Regions from separate parts of the Homo sapiens genome. Here all the other regions are linked to region 2. The links are contacts of gene promoters, found by promoter capture Hi-C in blood cells and fetal thymus (Javierre and others, 2016). All regions are on one chromosome and are shown on one strand. Each heading gives the region's core, a stretch centred on a gene start or on the middle of the fragment in contact. The rest is flanking DNA. Distances are from core to core; before and after follow the strand shown. Region 1 overlaps SPAG9 (sperm associated antigen 9). Region 2 holds the start of WFIKKN2 (WAP, follistatin/kazal, immunoglobulin, kunitz and netrin domain containing 2). Region 3 overlaps SPAG9 (sperm associated antigen 9). Region 4 overlaps SPAG9 (sperm associated antigen 9). Region 5 overlaps SPAG9 (sperm associated antigen 9). Region 6 overlaps SPAG9 (sperm associated antigen 9). Region 7 overlaps ABCC3 (ATP binding cassette subfamily C member 3).

The links. Contacts are between HindIII fragments. The CHiCAGO score rates a contact against its expected background, and 5 or more counts as called.
Region 1: a fragment that was not itself captured here is called in contact with the fragment with the promoter of WFIKKN2 in region 2 in 1 of 17 cell types (naive CD8 T cells); the score reaches 6.0 in naive CD8 T cells.
Region 3: a contact is called between a fragment that was not itself captured here and the fragment with the promoter of WFIKKN2 in region 2, in 2 of 17 cell types (total CD8 T cells and neutrophils). The highest score is 7.1, in total CD8 T cells.
Region 4: a contact is called between a fragment that was not itself captured here and the fragment with the promoter of WFIKKN2 in region 2, in 3 of 17 cell types (naive CD8 T cells, total CD8 T cells and activated CD4 T cells). The highest score is 6.4, in naive CD8 T cells.
Region 5: a fragment that was not itself captured here is called in contact with the fragment with the promoter of WFIKKN2 in region 2 in 4 of 17 cell types (non-activated CD4 T cells, total CD8 T cells, total CD4 T cells and 1 more); the score reaches 5.7 in non-activated CD4 T cells.
Region 6: a fragment that was not itself captured here is called in contact with the fragment with the promoter of WFIKKN2 in region 2 in 5 of 17 cell types (activated CD4 T cells, total CD8 T cells, naive CD8 T cells and 2 more); the score reaches 8.2 in activated CD4 T cells.
Region 7: a fragment that was not itself captured here is called in contact with the fragment with the promoter of WFIKKN2 in region 2 in 3 of 17 cell types (naive CD4 T cells, fetal thymus and activated CD4 T cells); the score reaches 6.0 in naive CD4 T cells.

Annotation. Positions count from the first base shown.
Region 1 is chr17:51,044,559-51,047,501 of GRCh38, forward strand. It overlaps SPAG9 (sperm associated antigen 9), which reads right to left. Exons shown (of 30, transcript NM_001130528.3): 4 at 2,817-2,911. Among named protein-coding and RNA genes, the nearest start is that of SPAG9, 75 kb to the right of the region's middle. The HindIII fragment of the contact is 196 bases long and covers 1,343-1,538 here.
Region 2 is chr17:50,834,180-50,837,190 of GRCh38, forward strand. It overlaps WFIKKN2 (WAP, follistatin/kazal, immunoglobulin, kunitz and netrin domain containing 2), which reads left to right and starts at 1,407. Exons shown (of 2, transcript NM_175575.6): 1 at 1,407-1,968. The coding sequence starts at 1,759. The HindIII fragment of the contact is 3,752 bases long and covers 1-3,011 here.
Region 3 is chr17:51,015,921-51,018,977 of GRCh38, forward strand. All of the region lies in intron 8 of SPAG9 (sperm associated antigen 9), which reads right to left. Among named protein-coding and RNA genes, the nearest start is that of SPAG9, 100 kb to the right of the region's middle. The HindIII fragment of the contact is 6,365 bases long and covers 1-3,057 here.
Region 4 is chr17:51,086,939-51,089,935 of GRCh38, forward strand. The region is part of intron 1 of SPAG9 (sperm associated antigen 9); the gene reads right to left. Among named protein-coding and RNA genes, the nearest start is that of SPAG9, 32 kb to the right of the region's middle. The HindIII fragment of the contact is 6,447 bases long and covers 1-2,997 here.
Region 5 is chr17:50,998,842-51,002,233 of GRCh38, forward strand. SPAG9 (sperm associated antigen 9) reads right to left here. Exons shown (of 30, transcript NM_001130528.3): 13 at 2,874-3,004; 14 at 820-876. Among named protein-coding and RNA genes, the nearest start is that of SPAG9, 120 kb to the right of the region's middle. The HindIII fragment of the contact is 2,874 bases long and covers 165-3,038 here.
Region 6 is chr17:51,067,809-51,071,036 of GRCh38, forward strand. The region is part of intron 2 of SPAG9 (sperm associated antigen 9); the gene reads right to left. Among named protein-coding and RNA genes, the nearest start is that of SPAG9, 51 kb to the right of the region's middle. The HindIII fragment of the contact is 1,413 bases long and covers 1,032-2,444 here.
Region 7 is chr17:50,650,304-50,653,413 of GRCh38, forward strand. All of the region lies in intron 1 of ABCC3 (ATP binding cassette subfamily C member 3), which reads left to right. Among named protein-coding and RNA genes, the nearest start is that of ABCC3, 17 kb to the left of the region's middle. The HindIII fragment of the contact is 458 bases long and covers 1,606-2,063 here.

The DNA.
Region 1 (2,943 bases), core at 191-2,690, 210 kb after region 2:
TGCTTTATATATAAAGGCAGATAAAAGAAAAAGTACATTTGTTGAACACTCACCACGTGGTGGGTACTGAGCTAGATGACTTATTTACATTATCGCATTTAATCCTTATCAAGAAACAGGGATTATTTTTCCAATTTTTCAGAGTAGGAAAAGTGATGCTCAGAGATTTTAGGCACTAGTAATTGGCAGAGTTTCGATTCAAAGCCAGTACTGTTCAATTCCAAGCCCTTTGCTTTCCTTGGAACTTCCTACTTGGAACTACCAACTTTTTGACAATTTAATCTTAATATCAAAGACTTTGATATCTTTATTTAATCAGATCAGTAGCAATTTTTGTGGTAAAGAACTTTAAAATTTTAATTATAAGGTATTTTAGCTGTAGCTAAAACAATTTCTGCTAAAAATGGACACATATAAGTAACTGAAAATTATTTACTCAAGTAATTTACCATATATCTTACAACTATAATTAAATACAAAATAATAAAATCACTTGATTTTTAAAACCACCCAACGGGGTAAGTCCCATCAGGAGAGAAAACTCAGGCAGAGAGATTAAGCAACTTGCCAAAGCTCCTACGGCCACGTGCAATAGAGCATTTGCACCCAGGCAGTTCAATTCCAAAGCCTTGTTGTACCCACTTGCAGGCGCCGCACAGCAGCTCACGGCACTGCCCTCTCAAATGAAGCCTAAACCCAAGACATCCCCTTAACATTAGTCTTATATTAATATTCTACATATTCTTAAGTTCAGTTGCTTTTAATTTCTTCAAAGCCTAAATATACAGATACACGTACACAAATATTTTATGTACTAATATATATACAAGTAGTAAGATTATTCCCAATTTTTATAAATCAGGAAAGAAAATAAAAGACCAAGTATCTAGTTTTAAGTCATTGATGAAATTTAATTTCTGGGCTTTCAACTAATATTAAACTTGAACTGACCTATGAATAAAAAGAAACACATTAAGGGAAGTTACTACTTTAATTCTTCTTAATTTATCTAAATCTACAATTAGGGTTTAAATATTTTATAAACATTTAAATAATAAATAAAAACTATATACTATGAACTTTCATTTAAAACCATGCACAAAGCAGAAATCTGAACAAATCAGAGACTGCTAGTCTGACGGTTTAGAAAACAAAAGAAACCACAACCTTAAGCCTCTAAAATACAGAAGATGGCTCTTACAGGGTGTAAGTAGAGTGAGCAACAGTAAAGCTACAGAGATTAATGACTACCCCCACAAGCAGGCATGGATATTTGTCACCCAAGACTACAAAGAAAAGAAAGGGCAACATCTGACAAAACAATAGTGAATAGGCTTTGTAAAGCTTTCACAACTTTGATGTGTAAATAATGGGGAAAAAGGCATTCCTTAACCTAAAAGTCTTAAATTTTTTCACTTTAAAACATATTTTGTTTTAGGAGGAAAATATTTAAATTGTCAGTTCCCATGAGCTATTATCAAAAATTACAAAAATGATACCTGAAACTCTATCATTCAAAGGATAATTAAAACAAAATAAGCTTACGGCCTGTATCTAACTGACTGCAAGTCCAAGCATAAAAGATATTTGTCCCTAAATGCTCAGAAGCTAAATGCAGAGGTTGTATAAACTTGGAGCCGGTGCTCTACTCTTGCTCTTCTTTTACTTTGAACATTCTGCTTAAAACAAGACCACACTGACCTTGTACTTGTGTGTAAGTACAATATGAAAATCCTTTTCTTTAGTTAGTGGTTTCCAAACATAAAGCTATAATCCTAACTGATGGTCTATAAATTACTATAAATTAGAATCAAAAATCCTAGCTTCAGGCCATTTTCCATTGTTTCAATCTGCAACAGAAATTGTTACAAAGCAGACCCGTTGAGCTAAAAATTTAATAAAAACCAGCTAAGCAGGGGCTTCTAAGAGAGATGGGAGTACCTGAGTATCCTTGGTAGGTTCTGCGTCAGAGCTGGCACACCGGTAGAAATAGAAAAGTGCACAAGCAGCAAAACAGAGAGAGATACTAAGATAGCAGAATTAATGACCACCGCCCCGCCAACAAAGCCAAACACAAACAGCAGCATGCATCCAGGACTCATGGCGCTGTGCTGGCATGGTGAAACACCCGAACCAAGGAGGCCTACACGGGGGCCAAAGGGGTATCTTTGTAGTGAGGATCTGTCATTCAGCTTGCTGCCACAAAAACAATGCCATCAGCAGCAGCTTTCCACTCCATCCTGCAGCAGCTCCCAAGCGATGACGTCATTCCGTTCTCCCCACCTCATAACCATAGAGCTGCTGCTCCTAGCATTTATGCAGCAACCCCAAGCGACAGCCAGCCTATTAACTATTTTCCCCTCCACTAAGAGTCCTGGCTTAGCTCATTGGCTACAATGCCTGAAGATCTACATAATTTATTCACACTCCTACACCAAACAGATGGCTAGCTAACCCTTTCAAACATGCCTCTCTGTAACAAAAAGGACTTCAAACCAATTACACGGGAGAAATAAAATATTTCAGCATTCCCATAAATTACAAAATTTTAAACCTAGTATAATCTCCATCAAGTATCAGAAAACAATCTAAATACTCAATGTGCTGCTTATATGGATGGCTCATAATTTATCTTTTTAATGGTAAAAACCGTTTCTACTTTTCTGTGCTATTCTCTCCTGCAGCATTCCAACCACAGTGGAGAGCTTTTTGAATCAGCCTAACTATTGTTCCAGGATTAAAGAACAGAGAAAAACAGAAACAAACATATTATTTATTTTACTTTTTCTCAAGGCAAAATATATAACAAAGCTTACCTAATTCTACTATGAGCTGTGGATTCTAGTTGATCACTCCCTGAGAGCTGATGAAGTTTTGTTCTTTCTAAATGTTCCATATAATTATGGATCATCTATTTTAAAGAAAGAAAAAATACACAATATT
Region 2 (3,011 bases), core at 157-2,656:
TCTGATGCGTGTGGGGGCCACTCCACCTACTGTCCCCGGGACACAGCAGCTCCTCAAGGCCCTTGTGGTTTGGCCTTGGAAAGGTACCTCTCTTTCGGGGCTCTATGTGCCTCCGCCCCCTACCCCCAGGATCGAGTGACCAACTCGAAAACACTCAGACTGCAGGCTGCTCTGTGGCATTTTAGATAGAAGCCATTTGCTGCCAAATGGGGGAGGAATCGCCCCCAGCCCCTGGCAGCTTCTGGCTCTCTTCCCGGCCCCTCCACAAATATAGCCCCTGATGTTTCAAAAATTTCTTGTCCAGTCTGTGAAAACCAGAGTTTGGGCTGTGCCTTGACAGCAGTTCTGGCAGATGGATGGGGGAGGGGTGATTTTAAAAGGCCCCTGCCCACACCCAGCAAGCTGGTGTCCCTGTTTCCTGTACCGTGGTGGGGTAGCTGTGCGACATGGGCAGGTTGCTTAGCCTCTCTGTGCGTCCTTTCCTCCGATCTGAAATGGAGGTGCAGTTTGTTGTGAGGATTAAATGAGATGATGCGTTCAGAGAAGCCACACGTGTGAAGAGCCCAGTGCATCTGGCAGCTGGTACCACCAGGACTGCTCACTCTGTGCGACCTTGGACAAGTCGCTCGCCCTCTTCGACCACAGACCTTCTCCTTTGGGAAGTGGGGGAGGCCAGACAAGGCTGGCAGTCAGAAGGAGCTCACTGAAGAGCAGCCACTGTGGTCGTCAGCGAGGGCAGCTGGACTCCGGCACAATCCTGAGACACTGTGACCGCGGAGGTTTTCTCGGTGTGTCGATGGAAGAGGGAGGAATGTGATCCGTCCCAGCCGCCGGCGGGGCCAGAGCATATCTGGTATGTGTCTCTGGAATGATTTGGGGAAAATTAACTGAAGTTGGAACTTAAGACGCAAACTGCCCTGGACACAGAGATACAGAGCTGTCCGTGCGCACACCCCCCACAAAGGGCCGGGGCCGGGGTGGGAGTCGGCTTACAGGGCACAGCGCGGCGCAGGCCCGCCCTGGAATGGCCGTGAACTTGTTGTTTTTCCACGTCATTTGCTCTCAAATGTACTATCAAGCCGGGCGATGCTAACCCGGTGGCTGCAGGTCCCTCCTCGTAACAAGCGATTGTGTGTTCTTTAGAGGTGGCCAAAGGGGAGGAGGGGGCCCGGCCCCAAGGAGGTGGGGGAAAGGGAAACAAGCCCTCCTTCAGAGTGAGCTTGCGTGTCCTGGAGCCAGCTCCCCGCAAAGCACATGCCATTTCTGGCCCTTGAAGGGGTTAAAGGCCTCCTGGAGTCAAAAACAAGCAGGTGTCCCACCGTGCCAGATACGCTGCCTAAACTGCTTCCAGCTTCTTTTTTTTTTTTTCCCCCCTTCTGCAATAAGTCTGTGATCAGCCACGGGACAGAGGCGCCAGCAGCCTGCCTGTGACAGGCATCAGGTTAGCTGGCTCCCACTCGGGTGGCGCGCCCAGGATATAAATCCGGGCGCGGGCCCCTGCTGTGGCTCCTCTCCCTGCACACTCAGGAGAGGGAGCTTCCTTCTAAAGACCTTTCTTTTATCTGAAGCCGCACAGCCCGGCAGGCTGTGCTGACTTGGTGGAGGCAGCAGCGGCAGAGCAGCCTGAGCAGCAGCCTGAGCAGGAAACCTGCTGGGGTGGGGAGGGCAGGTGTCTGCAGCCCCTGAGAAGAAGGCCCTGGTGGGCCCCAGACCCTGGCATCGTTTCAGGGGAGGTCTCTAGCCGCCCCAGCCTGCACCATGTGGGCCCCAAGGTGTCGCCGGTTCTGGTCTCGCTGGGAGCAGGTGGCAGCGCTGCTGCTGCTGCTGCTACTGCTCGGGGTGCCCCCGCGAAGCCTGGCGCTGCCGCCCATCCGCTATTCCCACGCCGGCATCTGCCCCAACGACATGAATCCCAACCTCTGGGTGGACGCACAGAGCACCTGCAGGCGGGAGTGTGAGACGGACCAGGTGAGTGGGGTCCAGAGACCAGAGATGGACCACGTGAGCCTGTGAGTGACGGGGGTGGGAGCCGTCGGGGAGGGACTGTGTGGGAGTGTGAGGAGGACAACGTGAGTGGGGTCCAGAAGCCACAGTGTGAGGCGGACCAGGTGAGTGGTGTCCGGAAGCAGGAGTGTGAGATGGACCAGGTGAGTGGGATCCAGAAGCCACAGTGTGAGGCAGACCAGGTGAATGGGGTCCAGAAGCCGCAATGTGAGATGGACCAGGTGAGTGGTATCTAGAAGTGGGAGTGTGAGGTTGACCAGGTGAGTGGGGTCCAGAAGCCGGTGTGTGAGGCGGACCAGGTGAGTGGGGTCCAGAAGCCACAGTGTGAGATGGACCAGGTGAGTGGGATCCAGAAGCTGGAGTGTGAGGCGGACCAGGTGAGTGGGATCTAGAAGTGGGAGTATGAGGTGGACCAGGTGAGTGGGGTCCAGAAGCCACAGTGTGAGATGGACCAGGTGAGTGGGATCCAGAAGCTGGAGTGTGAGGCGGACCAGGTGAGTGGGATCTAGAAGTGGGAGTATGAGGTGGACCAGGTGAGTGGGGTCCAGAAGCCACAGTGTGAGATGGACCAGGTGAGTGGGATCCAGAAGCTGGAGTGTGAGGCGGACCAGGTGAGTGGGGTCCAGAAGCCAGAGATGGACCATATGAGCCTGTGAGTGATGGGGGTGGGAGCCACAGGGTGGGGACCATGCAGGAGTGCCCTGCAGGTCCTAGGAAGGTGAAGGAACACAGGCCCCGTTCACCTGGAGAGAAACAGGGCACCATCCTGTCTATTAACACCGAAGCCTGGAAGGAGAGGTGGGAGCGATGTCCCAGTTCATCAGGGACTGGAGCCCGAGGATTCCTCCTTCATGCGTGCTGAGGGCTACTGTGGCCAGCACCGTGCCGGGCACGTCGTGTATGTTGGCATGACATGTCAGCATGGTGGGCATCAGCAGCCCATTCACAGGTGAGAGAGTGGACACAGAGCCAGGCACGGAGGGCACAGTTGTCATGGCCAGTGAGGG
Region 3 (3,057 bases), core at 335-2,834, 180 kb after region 2:
ATGAAAAGACTTACTTCATATAAGAAGATACAAAAAAGACACCTACACCAAGCACAGTATCATTAATTTTTAAAAAATCAAGAAAGTGACAATCTTAAAAGATTTCAGAAAGTATATAAAAATGAGCAAGAACTCAAATAACAACACCCTGAACTCAGCATGAAAATGAAGTAATGTCTTTGCAATTCTGATGGAAAAAAAATCTCCCAACCCATATAGTTCTTTATCTAGCCAAACTATCAAGTATGTCTTCTTAGGAAATTTGTAACATTCAAGTTCATAGTGCTCAAAAAAAAAAAATTTACTTGTCATGCACCCTTTGCCAGGAAACCTAGTAAGGATATGTTCCGTCAAAACAAAGGCATAAATCAAGAAGCAGGATGATGTGGCATCCAGGAAACAAAAGATACAACAGAGGAGAAAGGTGAAAAGAATTCCAGGGATGATAGTGAGGGCATATTCCAGAACCAGAACAAATATGACAGCAGTCTCAATTGGAGAATGGGAATAGGAGGCTGCAGGAGAGTAAGCCCTAGGAAACAGGCAGGTTTTGTGTTTGGTCATATTGGGGACTTTTACATTTATGAATTGCATAGTGTCTGCCAGTGATTTAGTAACAGGTCCACAGAAACATAAGGAAAAGAAACAAAATAACCCAAGGCTTTATTAATTTCAGAAGAACAAAAAGTTGTAAAAGAAATGAAATGGGCCGTAGCAGTGGCTCACGCCTGTAATCCCAGCACTGGGAGGCCAAGGCGGGTGGATCATGAGGTCGGGAGTTTGAGACCAGCCTGACCAACATGGTGAAACCCCGTCTCTACTAAAAATACAAAAATTAGCCAGGCATGGTGGCTCACGCCTGTAATCCCAATTAGGATGCTGAGGCAGGAGAATTGCTTGAACCTGAGAGGCAGAGGTTGCAGTGAGCCGAGATCACACCACTGCACTCCAGCCTGGGCGACAAAGCGAGACTCCGTCTCGGAGGAGGGAAAAAAATAAAAAAATAAATGAAATGTAATTATACTGTATTCTGTGGCTAAGTAGAATTACAGATTAATTTTATATAGTCATACTGATATAAATAATGAATTTAACTAACAGAATTTGAAATATATAATATTAGGAGGATGAAAGGATGGTGGTTTAGGCATTATATCCTCATCTACTACAGAAAGCCAACAGCTAGCATCACAGCCTTTTTCAACCAGGGTTCCGTATTTGATCTACAAAATACAGAAAAGGATTTAAGTGAGTATTTTTTCCATTCTCCCAAGGTAAGTACATACCTAGAATCCTATTCTAGACGCACAGGAGCATAGCTAATTCATTATATACAAGAGATGCCTTAGGGCATTAGGACTACATTTTCTCACAGAATCTCAGCTGAAAAAGGGAGGGATGAAGGAGGGGCAGGACGAACATGTTATTTTAGATACCTGAAGACAAACAGCATAAGAGAGAGCTAAGAAGTGATAGAGTTGTGCACCCTTTACCCAGAAAGCTAGTAAGGATATGCTCTGTCAAAACAAAGGCATAAATCAAGAAGCAGGGTGATGTAGGATCCAGGAAGAAGAGTGGCGACAGAATGAGAACCTGTCTGAGAGAGAGAGAGAGAGAGAGAGAGAGAGAGACAGAGGGTTCTGGATTTGAATCCCAAGTCCACCTCTTGCTAGCTTGGTAATCTGGGACAAGCTACTTTGAACAAGTTCTAAGTCTCTTTATTTATAAAATAAGGATAAAAAGATCTACCTCATAAGGTTGTAATTAGGATCAAATTATATAAAATCATGATGAAAACAATATTACTTAACATTTATTGAATGGGGCATTTTGCAATGATTTATCATATATTGATTCATTTAATCCTCACAACCATCTGAGGTATTAACACAAAGCTGTTTTATAAATGAGAAAACATACCTAAGATTCAAATCCAAGACAGGATTTGAACCCATGCAGTCTTACTCTAGGGTCTATGCTTTTAACCGCTACAGAGTACTGACTGCACAATGCTTAACAGAGATCAATAAATGGCTTGTATTTTTATAGTCATTAATTAATTAAAGGATCAACTTTATGGAAGAAATGAAAAGAAAGGCAGTAGCTCCTGTCTGACATTCTTGAGCATCAATGTATTTTGGATAATCCTGATTAAGATGATATCTAATCTCCCAGCACTTTGGGAGGCTGAGGCAGGCGGATCACTGGTGCTCAGGAGTTCAAAGTTCAAGACCAGTCTGGCCAACATGGTAAAACCCCATCTCTACTAAAAATACAAAAAGTAGCCCAGTGTGTGCCTGCAGTCCCAGCTACTTGGGAGGCTGAGGTGAGAGAATCGCTTGAACCCGGGGGAGGGGGTGGGGGTGGGAGTGGGGTGAAGGTTGCAGTGAGCTGAGATAGCACCACTGCATCCAGCCTAGGCGACAGAGCAAGACTGCATCTCAAAAAAAAAAAGATGAGATCTAACTATTTTCTTCCTACCACTAAACAGCCTTCCCATGTAAAATGATACCAAAATGAGACTAATTTCTTCCAATAATGAGATTACACTTCTCAAGATGGAAGTACATTCTCTCTTCCTGATCTGGTGGAAGGTACAAAAGTTTGTTCAAACTTTTTTGTTTTGTTTTTTAAATCACATTTATTTAGCATATGTACACATAAAAAAGAAATCACCTTCTGAACCCACCCAGCAGCAGGAAACATGCACAAACTCCAGGTAAGTGCTAGGGGGAGGGGCCCTGGACCCAAGTTAGTGTCCGGGACAATGCAATCTTGTGAGTAACAAGCCCCAGTCAGGAGGGGGCTGGACTGAAGTGTCCGGCAGGCTGGAGTACCCGGCTGCTGGCCCTAAAATAAGCATGCTCCATAGCCAACGGTGTGTTTCATGCCCTCAAAGTAGCACCGCTGCCAGCCCTGCCATGTCCACTCTGTTACTTCCTTCACTCCCGCTTCTTGGTTTTTTCAAGTTACAGAAAGTATGGGATATGTCTTGGCTGTCTTTTTTCCCCTATCTGCTATAGTTTGAATGTGTCCCCTATAAAATTCAGCTGTTGC
Region 4 (2,997 bases), core at 459-2,958, 250 kb after region 2:
ATAAAATAAAAAATAAAATGCTAATCACTAATATGCAACAAAAATAAAAGTTCCTCAGTTCTGATAAGACATCCCTAATAGCTTACACAGGGCACTGAAAGCTGAGTAGGATAAATGTAATACTAACTTTCAAAGAATAATCAAGAATCAAGAAAAAGTAACAAGTGACTGGAAGTTTCTAAATTGCTATCCAAGAAAAATATCCATCAAATAGTCTAGTTTTGGGCCACTGTTTTGAGAAATATCCCTGACAATATAGGTAACCTCATAAACAGAAGTTGCTGTAGGGTAGAATAGCTCAGAAAGCAGAACACTCATAATTACAAAAATACTTCAGAAATGGCATAGCTCTATATAGCAATTAGCAATCATGTGAAAGTGGGAAACATTGATATAAGAATTTATGAATGAGAAAACAGGAATAGAAACAGAGACGGTGTCATGAAATTCAAACAGATGCCAAAATACAGCTCTTGGCAGAAAAAGGTTTGGATTCGTGGTCCTAGTAAGAGTCCTCTTTTTTCCTGGATGAAGGCTGGAGGTATAGCATAAGGGAAGTAATGAGAATAGTTTCTTTGTCTCTATACCTAACCTTTTCATACTATCAACAAAATACTTGGGCAATGAGTGGCATGGGTTACACTAAAAAGAAAGTTCTCAGGGCTTTCTGCTTCCCTTCTACATTCAGAGATCTTAGTTGGGCTGGTAGCACATGAGTTCTGCTGAACCTCATTACTAGGTTTGTATAGTACAAGCATGGCTGACCTTCTTTATTGTTTAATTTAATTTTTAATTTTCATTTACTTATTTTTTAGAGATGAGGTGTTGTTCTGTCATCCAGGCTGGAAGTGAAGTGGTACAATCATGGCTCACTGCAGCCTCGACTTCCTGGGCTCAAGCGATCCTCCCACCTCAGCCTTCTGAGTAGCTGGGACTACAGGCATGTGCCACTATACCCAGCTAAATTTTTTTTATTTCTTATTTTTAGTAGAGACAAGGTCTCACCATGTTGCCCAGCCTGGTCTCGAATTCCTGAGCTCAAGCGATCCTCCTGCCTCAGCCTCCCAAAGTGCTGGGATTATAGGCATGAGCGACCATGCCTGGCCCTGACCCTCTTTTTAAAGTCTTCTTGATTTACTTCAAAGAAACATGTCTGCCTTCTACTTCTATAATTTCCACTTAACACACTAACTGAGATAACAAAAATAGGAAACATCCCAGTCCGTCACTCTGTAGTCAAAGAAAAACTTGTCATAGTTAAGAGACTAGGAAAAAGCTGTTGTAATAGTTAAGCCACACACCTATTCACAATGCCTATTCTCCAAATGCTAGGCAGTTAGGCAGCATGATGATATTTACTACAAACTAGGTAATGTCATTCATAGGACTTATTCTTAGATAAAATAACATGTTAAATATAAAACTAAAACTCTTTGCCCACCCATCCAATAGGAGTACTCACTGTATGAGAGCCATCAAAGACGTATCATAAACATTTACAGTGTAACACGCTAAGTGCTATAATGAAAGCAGAGAGGAAGAAGTGACTAAATCTGCTTTAAAAAAGGGAAGTCAAGGCTGGACACAGTGGCTCACACCTGTAATCTCAGTACTTTGGGAGGCCAAGGTGGGCAGATCACGAGATCAGGAGATCGAGACCAACCTGGCTAACACGGTGAAACCTCGTCTCTACTAAAAATACAAAAAAAATTAGGCGGACTTGGTGGCGGGCGCCTGTAGTCCCAGCTACTCAGGAGGCTGAGGTAGGAGAATGGCATGAACTTGGTCGGCAGAGCTTGCAGTGAGCCGAGATCGTGCCACTGCACTCCAGCCTGGGCAACACAGTGAGACTCCGTCTCAAAAAAAAAAATGGGAGGTGGGCACAGTTGCTCACGCCTGTAATCCCAGCACTTTGGGAGGCCGAGGCAGGTGGGTCATGTGGTCAAGAGATGGAGACCACTCTGGCCAACATGGTGCAACCCCGCATCTACTAAAAATACTAAAATTAGCCAGGCGAGGTGGCACCCGCCTGTAGTCCCAGCTACTCGGAAGGCTGAGGCAGGAGAATCACTTGAACCTGGTAGGCAGGGGTTGCGGTGAGCGAGATTGCGCCACTGCACTCCAGCTTGAGCAACAGAGGGAGATTCTGTCTCAAAAACAAAACAAAACAAAACACACACACACAAAAAAAAAACAGAAGTTGGGCCAGGCACGGTGGCTCATGCCTGTAATCCTAGCACTTTGGGAGGCCGAGGCAGGTGGACCACCTGAGGTCAGGAGTTCGAGACCAGCCTAGCCAACATGGTAAAGCCCTGTCTCTACTAAAAATACAAAAATTAGCTGAGCCTGGTGGTGGGCACCTGTAATCCCAGCTACTTGGAAGGCTGAGGCAGGAGAATCACTTGAACCCAAGAGGTAGAGGTTGCACTGAGGTGAGACTGTGCCATTGCACTCCAGCCTGGGCAACAAGAGTGAAACTCTGTCTCAAAAAAACAAAAAAACAAACAAACAAAAAAGAAGTCGACAGGTGCACCGAAATCTCGGAAATCACCACTAAAGAACTTATCCATGTAACCAAAAACTACCTGTTCCCCAAAAAATATTGAAATAAAATTATATATATATAATTATAATATATATGTGTATATCTACTTATTATATGTATATATATACACTTTATTTTATATATATATATATATATATATATATATATATATATATATATACACATACACACACACACTTTCTTTTTTTTGATATGGAGTCTCGCTCTGTGACCCAGGCTGGAGTGCAGTGGCATGATCTTGGCTCCCTGCAACCTCTGCCTACCAGATTCAAGCAATTCTCCCTGCCTCAGCCTCACGAGTGGCTGGGATTACAGGCACCCACCACCATGCCCAGCTAATTTTTTGTATTTTTAGTAGAGACAAGGTTTCACCATGTTGGCCAGGCTGGTCTCGAACTCCTGACCTCAGGTGATCCACCTGCCTTAGCCTC
Region 5 (3,392 bases), core at 352-2,851, 160 kb after region 2:
CTGTTCTTTAACTAGCAATTTGTATAATGAAAGCAAGAAGCTCTTAAATAGAGGAAACTTCTCCTACTGAATAAATATATTTTGGTTTTTTTGCTAGCTCCTACTTGGTGCAAGGTAAGAGCGATTGTTAAACCGCAAGGTTATGGCTGTGTGATGTGAATGGAAGCTTAGTATGCCAGTTCTAAAAACAGCTTATTATAATCAAGTACTGGAACACATATTACCATGTTAACACACATTTTATACATTTTCTGATTAAGCTCAATTTAAACAACTACTTTCGGGTCTATTTCTTTTTTAATTGACACTTCCATTAAATAGCAGATTCACCAAAAAAGGGTAAGTTTTAATCACAGTAAACACATAGTACTTCTAGCACAAACATAACTCAAGCTCAATACATACACAATATTACTCAAACCCTACAAGCACTAAATTTCTCATCTTCACTTTGTAAAGTTTCTTACAATCACAAAACCAGCCAATCAGAAACTTATTTAATGGGGATCCAGGTCATTTTCAAGTCTCTAAATAATTCCCCATTATTTAAATTTGGCAGAGGATTGCAACAAATGCACAGTCAACATGATGCAGCTTACGATATCATATTTTTTGTCCTTGAGAAGAGCCTTACCGAGTTGGCACACTATATATTAAAAAAAAAAAAAAAGTTCAGTTTAGCTACTTAACCATTACCCCTAGTTTAAAAAAAAAAAATGAAGGAAAGAAAATGGACATAAAATCATTCTTGGAAATAAATTTTGACTGTAATTTTCTTGTCTCATGTGCTGTCTAACATCTTTGTTTTTCAATACTTACAACTGCCAAATGCTTGACCTTTTTTTTTCCTGCATGGCTGGATTTTCTCGTGATGCCCTACATTCAAAAAGAAAAGAAAAGAAACATTTATCAGTGAGGTATTCTACCTTTCTTTCTGAAGAACAAGAGACCCAAGAAGTTCATGGGATACACAGAGGGGAGTCAACAATTAAGTTCAATAAATACTGTAGTTACTTTGACCTACCATGTGTCAGTCAATCTGCTAAAGATTGACTTTAATTCTACTAAGAAAAATAAAATATCATCCCTCCCTCAAAGAGCTTAGTCTACCGACAGAGGACTGTAATATGTGCTAGACAGCCAACATGCCTGAATGATATTTAAAATTTTTTATTGAAAAGATACCCTCTAACTTTCCCTTTTATTAAAATATTGCCTTGTAAATTCCCATCTTTACATAAAAGTCTCTATCATCTATACTCGGAGCTCTCACAAAATAGCTTGAAACTTTGGCATCCTGAGGGGTCATTTTTCACAAGACTAAAACTTTTCCATCACTGGAAAGATGACCACAGCAGGGAAGAGGATAAACTGGATTGACAGGTGATTCAACAAAATTTCAGAAAATAAGATATTCCAAATTGATTTATGAGGTGGTAGGGATTCTGCCATCATAATCAGAGCTCTCTTTTCACTACTTTTTTGTTATGAACTAAATTAAAAACATTCTTTACTTCAGTGAAGTAGTTAAAAGTAAGCTACTATTTCCTTTAATTTGTTGACTACCACTTGGCTGCTAGAGTTAAAAACAGCAATGGAAAGTGAAGTCCAGTTGGGCACAGTGGCTCACACCTGTAATCCCAGCACTTTGGGAGGCCGAGGCGGGCGGATCACTTGAGGTCAAAAGTTCGAGACCAGCCTGACCAACATGGTGAAACCCTGTCTCTACTAAAAAATACAAAAATTAGCTGGGCATGGTAGCGCACACCTGGAAACCCAGCTACCAGGGAGGATGAGGCAGAACTGCTTGAACCCAGGGGGTGGAGGTTGCAGTGAGCCGAGATCACACTTCTGCACTCCAGCCTGGGCACAGAGCAAGACTCCATCACAAGACTCCATCTCAATAAATGAATGAATAAATAAATAAATAAATAAATAAATAAATAAATAAGGTCCACTTTCAGTTTTTTGAATATTTACTTATTATTTATTCGATATCCACTAAATACTGCAGTTAAGAACATACACTTTCTAGTGGGTTAGTTTCCTTGTCTAATAAATATAGATTAGAATACTGATCTTCCTTATGGGCAGTTATAAGCAATTACTATCACAGCAAATTGTAAAATGATATGTTAAAACACTTGATTCTAATATAACATTGGTAAAGGGTACATAAACTGTGAAATAAATGATGTAATCCTAAAGAAGTAAAAGTTGGCAATTAGAGAATGTGTTCATAAACTTAAAAACAACATGTCAATGCATACTATTATTGGTAAATCTGATATGACAATCCAAACTCAAAAATATGGGTAAATTAGGGGGCAGCTCATTTACAAACTTTTCAGTTCTTTCTAAATTAAAGAAACACTATTACTGAGACTACAACCATTAGATGGCAGCATTGGGTGAGATTTAAGAGCCATCTGACTGAAAGATACCAATGGAAGGGTGTACTTGGCATGAACAGTTAGAAAAGAGAGAAAGAAATCAAGCAAGAGTATTTTACAGAAAGACACTGAGTCAAAATAATTTATTTTCCTGTGTTGCATATGAAATTGTGATCTTTTCCTGACATTACTGGGTAAGTAGTATTGATTTCTATATTTGAAAAATGACCATCATTCCTAAGTAATAATAATTGCCTTTTAGAGGTCGTAGTAACATCCTCCAAGATCCCTTACTGGCCCAAAAAGCACCTCCTTTGATCACATTCTGTTGCTAATTCTGAGTGTTACTTTAAAAAGTCTCTCCTAGTAAACAGAGAAAGGGGCTTGGATCTTACAGGGCAGGACTTAAGTTCCACATGAAGGAATATTCAAACCTACAAAATAATAGTAGGAAAATAATGGAGCGCTTGTCATACAAACCGAATCATCTCTGTCCATCGAACAGCTTCCTGAAGCTCCATCAATCTCTCTTTATACTGGTTTCGCTCCATGAGAACACGGGCCATTTCTACTCTAGTAAACCGTTTCCTCTGGGCTGTGGGAATATCACTCTATAATGACAAGAAAATGACATATCATTCTGGAAGCTTATAAATGTCTTGGTGTTCATCTCAGAGTTATGCAAAATCTTTCAGTTTTTAAGCATTCCTTAATTTTTAATCTAGTAGATCATTTAAAGAAAAATGGCTTTATAAAAACAAAATCAACAAAGACTTTTTTTTAAAAAAATATATTTTTTGAGACAGGGCCTTGATCTGTTGCCCACCCTGAAGTGCAGTGGTGAAATCATAGCTCACTGCAGCCTGGAACTTCTGGGTTAAAGCAATCTGCCCACCCCAGCCTCCTGAGTAGCTTGGACTACAGGTACATGTCAACACGCCTGACTAATTTTTAAATTTTTTTGTAGAGACAGGGTCTCGTTATGTTGCCCAGGCTCAT
Region 6 (3,228 bases), core at 488-2,987, 230 kb after region 2:
ATAATGATGGAGATACTTCAGCCTCATTTTGAGCGCTCTTTCTATCCGTCTTTCCAAAAAGCAAGAGGATAAGATTAAGGCAGGAAGAGCCACCTGCTCTGCCGGCTCAAAATCAGAGCTTACCTCCTGAGATTGATGGCCTTTGCCAAGTTTGGAACACCTTCCATCTCTGTTGTCTTCTGCCCCATCAGACTGCTGATAGGCCTACGGGGGGAAGAAAGAGAAACAGACCTGCTAGAATGCCATATCCAACTCATTATTTGCCTTCTCAAAAGGAATCATCAGTTTTTACTGTTCCTGGAAGGCAGATAGTCCAACTGTTGCTGGGCCTCAGAAGATTGACATGTGGTCTTTCAGAAACTTCTCCTTGAACAATTTAGCATCAGAAGTCCCAACAGGTAAGCAAGGCTGACTTAAGAGCAAAGAAATCTCAGACAACCACATCAAAACAGTAATAACAACCTCTCCTCACCAACTAAGTCCTTTACCATGTCTCTCAACTTCAAAAAATTTTCAGATATTATATGTTATTAATCAATGACACAATGTGAAATTATACATATTTTAAAGCTATCATGAATCAATGATCATATTCTCAAAACAGAGTAGGATAACTTCAAAGAATCCCAGCGGTAGAAACTTCTAGTGATCTGACAGTTCCCTGTCTTGAAGATGTTACTTAAGCCATCCACAACAAAGCTGATGATTCTCCTACCTAAAGTCTCTACGTAGGGACAGTCCACGCTTAACCTCTGCACATATTCCTGTGTATCACCCTCATGGCCAAGAAATACTTCCTCATGACCAACCAAAGCCAAAAAATTCATTTTCTCTCACTTAATCTTCCAAAATAACAGACAAACAGCTTGCTACACTCCTTATCCATCCCTTTATATGTTTGAAAGAATAATCAAATTATTCGTATTTTCCCTGTTCTCTAAGCAAATCACCAGAAATCCTTTAACTTTTACTCATAAACTTAATTTTCTGATACCTTTAGTTCTAGATATTAATTATAAATTACAACTTTAAGCTTCTCAATAGACAACACTAGACTCAAAAATGAAAGAGCCCAAATACAGATAATAAAACATAAAACAGCTAAAGACCACAAGTATTACCTAATGAAGCAGAAGTAATGTTAGTGTTTGCAAAAACTATCTTGTGCCTAATTTTCTACTTTCCCACTCATATGTAGGCTCTAAATAAGAAACAGCTGATATATATTGTTTATTAAATATATAGATATTCTTAGTATTGCAAAGAACTAGATTCTGATTAAACAGACTAAAAGTAGCTTTCTAAATAATTAACTTGTCATTCTTTTAAAACCAAAAGATATAATTCAAACTCCTAAAGCTGCCTCATTAAAAAAACTTTCAACAAAAACACATATCATCATTAAAATATATATATATAAATCTTCGTAATCTACTTTTATCATTCTTAAAATTATGTAGAAGGAATTGCCTATTGACATAGAACTAAAGTGGAAAAAGTGTCCTATTACAGTATTATTTAATTTTTTCAAAATACTAACATTCATTGCTAATCACAAAGCACAGTAAAGGATCTGATAAAGTTTTGTACAAGCCTGAATGTATTTTTTTAGGTGATTTGAAAAACAGCGACAGAAAATATTTAGGCTCTCTCAAATATTAACTTTGATATGAAATGATACTTGGCAACTTTAAAATGGTTTATGTGCTGTGAAAATTCTTAATTTATCAATCACCTTGTGTTGAAGGTCTGTTTTAAGCCTTATTTAATTCCTTTAAATAAATTTAATTAATTAAATAAAATTTAAACATTCCTTTAAAATAAAAATTATGTTATTGTTTATGTTAATATCTCCCCCAACTTTCTATCTAGTGGAGTGCTTATTCTTATGACCAAGAAATAAGAAGTGTTTTCCTTCTAATAATAATGTTTCAAAGTGAAGGCTTGCAGGTATTTTACTAGACTAAGATCCTGACACAAGATGTAAAAAGCAAAGGAATGTTACATGGGGGACAAAAAAGGTAGAAAGGTCAAAGTATAAGGATCTAACACATTTGACTTCAGTGCCAACAACATTTTTCCATTTAATTCAAAAAGACGAATTTTCATTTAAAGGAAGGAAGGGCGGAATTAAAGAAGAGTCTAAATATAACAGCTTAAAATCACAGCCACGGGTGCAGTGGCATGCACCTGAGGTGGGCTCCCTCACGGGAGGGCTGAGGTGGGAGGATCACTTAAACACAGGAATTAGACCCTCATCTCTTAAAAAAAAAAACAAAAAAAAAACCTGTACTCCCCAAAAAACATAGCCACCAAATTAAGAAGTACTCACTAAAAAAAAAATATCACTGTCATCTAAATCTTTTCATCTTCTCCACAAAAGGCAATGGCTCTATACTCAGGGAAGAATAAGTTGTAAATCCAAGGAGCCTGAGGGCAACAGAAGCTTCCTAAGAGAGAATCAAATAATAAATGATTCTATATCAGCTCTGTGTGCTAATATGCTGTAAATAATGCTTCAAATTCATAAGTTATGACAAGCAAAATGGAATTTACTACTAACCCTTACTTCTCCAATTCTATTGACATTAGAAATGGCCAAACTATTATATGCCAAAAAGCACTAAAATTCTTTGACCTACTTCCTTAAATATATTCTAAGAAAACTACCAATAGAAGGGAAAACTTGTAGATGTAAAAAAATATTTACTGCAATATGATTCAGTATACCAGAAAAAATGACCAACCAACCAACAGAAGTTTTTGGTTTTTTTATTTTAAATTTCTTACATTTATTTTACCCTGATTCACCTCTTCATTCCACAAAGGATTTGAGACAGTTTACAATAGAGCATAATATATTAATTATACATGTATAAAACGTGGATCAAGAAAAAAAACAATTTAAATATGCCAACCAGGTAAGGTTCAAACTAGTTGTTATGGTTGCATTTCAACGTTTGTTCTGTTTCTGGGCTGCCATGGTAAAAAACACAGTGGCCATTAAATAATTCTCATTAGAGGAAAAAATAAAGCATAGTCCTCAGGGAAAACAAAAATTGTTAATAGATGGCATAGCTTCTGGATGGTGGATTTATGTGGACATAAAAATAATAATGAAGATTATACAACAAGGAAAAATACTTATGATAATGTTAAGGAAAAGATACAAAATTAAATATACATCCTAACCACAATGATATAAAAATATAATATATATGGGAAAAA
Region 7 (3,110 bases), core at 585-3,084, 180 kb before region 2:
ACCATGTTGGCCAGGCTGGGCTCGAACTCCTGACCTCAAGTGATCCACCCGCCTCTGCCTCCCAAAGTCCTGGGATTACAGGCGTGAGCCACTGCACCCGGTCGCTAACTTTTATTCTTAAAAAACTTGTAAATAATTACCTCCTAATCTTAACCAGCTTGATCACCCATAAAATTTCTTTCACAAGATTCATCTTCCACAAACCTCCTACAACTCTTATATCCATTCACTTTTTGTCCTATACTTTCCTCTTCTCATTTTCGAAAAATCAGTCATTTCACTTTAGGACAAAATTTATTCTCTTTTTCCGTTATCAAAACAAAACATCCTCACGTCTTATAGCTTTTCCTTAGCTTCCTTTGTATATTTCTTTTTCATATATTCCTTTTTCTTACCTTCCTTGTATATTTTCATATAGATTTTCCCCCTTATTGTTTCTAGTAATTGTAGCTACATATATTAATTAGAATTCTTAACCCCGGCCAGGTACAGTGGCTCATGCCTGTAATCCCAGCACTTTGGAGTCCGAGGTAGGCAGATCACTTGAGGGCAGAAGTTCAAGACCGGCCTGGCTGACATGCTGAAACCCTGTCTCTATTAAAAATACAAAAATTGGCTGGGCGTGGTGGCGGGCACCTGTAATCCCAGCTACTGGGGAGGCTCAGGCAGGAGAATTACCTGAACCCAGGAGGTGGAGGTTGCAGTGAGTCAAGATTGAGCCACTGCACTCCAGCCTGGGTGACAGCGCGAGACTCCATCTCAGAAAAAAAAAAAAAAAAAAAGAATTCTTAACCCTTAGTGACCTTAATTTCCATGGACATTAGAAAGTAAGCATTTGTGAATTGTGTGTCACACCAGCTGTAGATTGGTAAATCTATGAACCATAATGTCTAGAAGCATGAGCTTTCTCATAGTACAATTTGTCAGTGTGGCACAGAACATGTTTCTCAATGGTCCAAAATGTCTTTAAGTCTCTCTGTAAAAATAAACTGTAAAGGAGGCAAAATTTCATTTGTATCCCTTTAGGTTTTTTGTTTGTTTGTTTTGTGAGGCCTGAAAACTAAATTGTTGTTTGTACAGATTTCCCTCCTCCTCAACTTTCTATTCTTGATGCTAAGAGTGTTAAAACCTTCTGGTGGCTGAGCGTGGTGGCTCACGCCTGTAATCCTAGCACTTTGGGAGGCTGAGGCAGGTGGAACACTTGACCTCAGGATTTCGAGACCAGCCTGGGCAACATGGTGAAACCCCATCTCTACAAAAAATACAAAAATTAGCTGGATGTGGTAGCTTGTGTCTGTAGTCCCAGATACTTTGGCGGGGCTGAGGCGGGAGGATTGCTTGAGCCCAGGAGGCAGAGGTTGCAGTGAGCCGAGATCTTGCCACTTGCACTCCAGAGTAGGCGATAGAGACCCTATTTCAAAAAAGTAATAATAAAACCTTCTGGTATAGGAAGGACATCTTTTACATGGGAATTTTATCTTACATTCATTTAACTCACTTATTTTCAACACTTATGCTTGGATTGCCTATAAAGATGAGATAATAAACAACTAGTCATCATTTTGTTTTTCTTGCTGACAAATTTTATAATATAAAGACAACATAAGCTTGTTTTACCAGTAAACCTAGATAGGAAATCATGCATCTTTATGATATTTAATCCCCAAAACTATGAAAACATGTCTGTTTCAGTCAAACCAACAATATTCTTATTTGCCAAAGATTACCCAAGTCAGATGAGCTGCAAAAGTATTTGAGGTAGTTCTTAATTTTCTGAGAGAATACTTCATTTATACAAGCACTTATTTTTCTTAAAGCCAACAAAATAGAGCTCTTTCATAATTTAATTTTGGAGCATTAAAAGGAGATAAGAAACTATGATACCTGTATCATACATACAGACTTATATAAACATAAACAGCAACAGATCTTACAGCTTTCATTTAAATATCTTAGCCATGTTCCAGGTACAGTAATATAAAACTCCTGAATTTATTAAAGACTATCTGGATCCAAATTGTTCTTCTGGCCAATGGAACAAGATTTCTTGCCCAGATGACTAAAGCTTTTGAATAAGATTCGTGAAGGAGCTTTTAAGATTTTTTTGTTTGATTTCTGTAAGGAACCTATTATAAAGAGGCAATTTTTTATTCATTTAATCTTTTAGATGCCTCTGTGTATCAATTAAAGAATGCATCCCATTGCTTTTGTGGCATTTTTGAACCTTTCTTTTCTAATGCACCTTGCAAGTGAACAGTTTTATCTAGGTCAAAACTTTCCCACTGTGGCCACTGTAACTCTTAAGTTGTCCTCAGCAAAGTTAACCCATTTTTCCAAAAATACACATGTTCCTCATAATTGTTGTTCATGAAGTTAGCCACCGTCCCAGAAAGTGGCGTCTCAGACTCTGGAGTCCCAGACTCCTTAGATTTGGAGGAACTCACTTTCAAAAGGCACCTGCCTGAGGCTTTTAACTGGATCCATTTCAGTTAATTATCAGATCTGATTTGCTCCTGGACCCAGTCCTACTTGACCCAGTCTAAGAATTGTTCAAATAAACTTGGAGAACACAAAACACAAATTCCTGAAGCTTGGAATCTGAGATAGAACTCACCCATGACCTCCAGTTGCTACAAGAGAACAATTGGCACAGTGTGCCCTGTCAGGTACCCTTACTTGGTCACTAAATGCTCCTGAGGGTCACTGGAGTTCTACTTCCGATCCCACTTCTGACACCAATCTGTTAAAAGAAAAGCTTTAGGCCGGGCACGGTGGCTCACGCCTGTTATCCCAGCACTTTGGGAGGCCGAGGTGGGTGGATCACCTGAGGTCAGGAGTTCAAGACCAGCCTGGCCTACATGGTGAAACCCCATCTCTACTAAAAATACAAAAATTAGTCAGGCATGGTGGTGGGCGCCTGTAGTCCAAGCTACTCAGGAGGCTAAGGCAGGAGAATTGCTTGAAGCTGGGAGGTGGTGGTTGCAGTGAACCGAGATCACGCCATTACACTCCAGCGTGGGGGCCAAGAGCGAGACTGTCTCAAAAAAAAAAAAAAAAAAAGAAAAAGAAAAAGAAAAAGGAAAAGCTTTAGACAAATTTAGCAGAGCTTA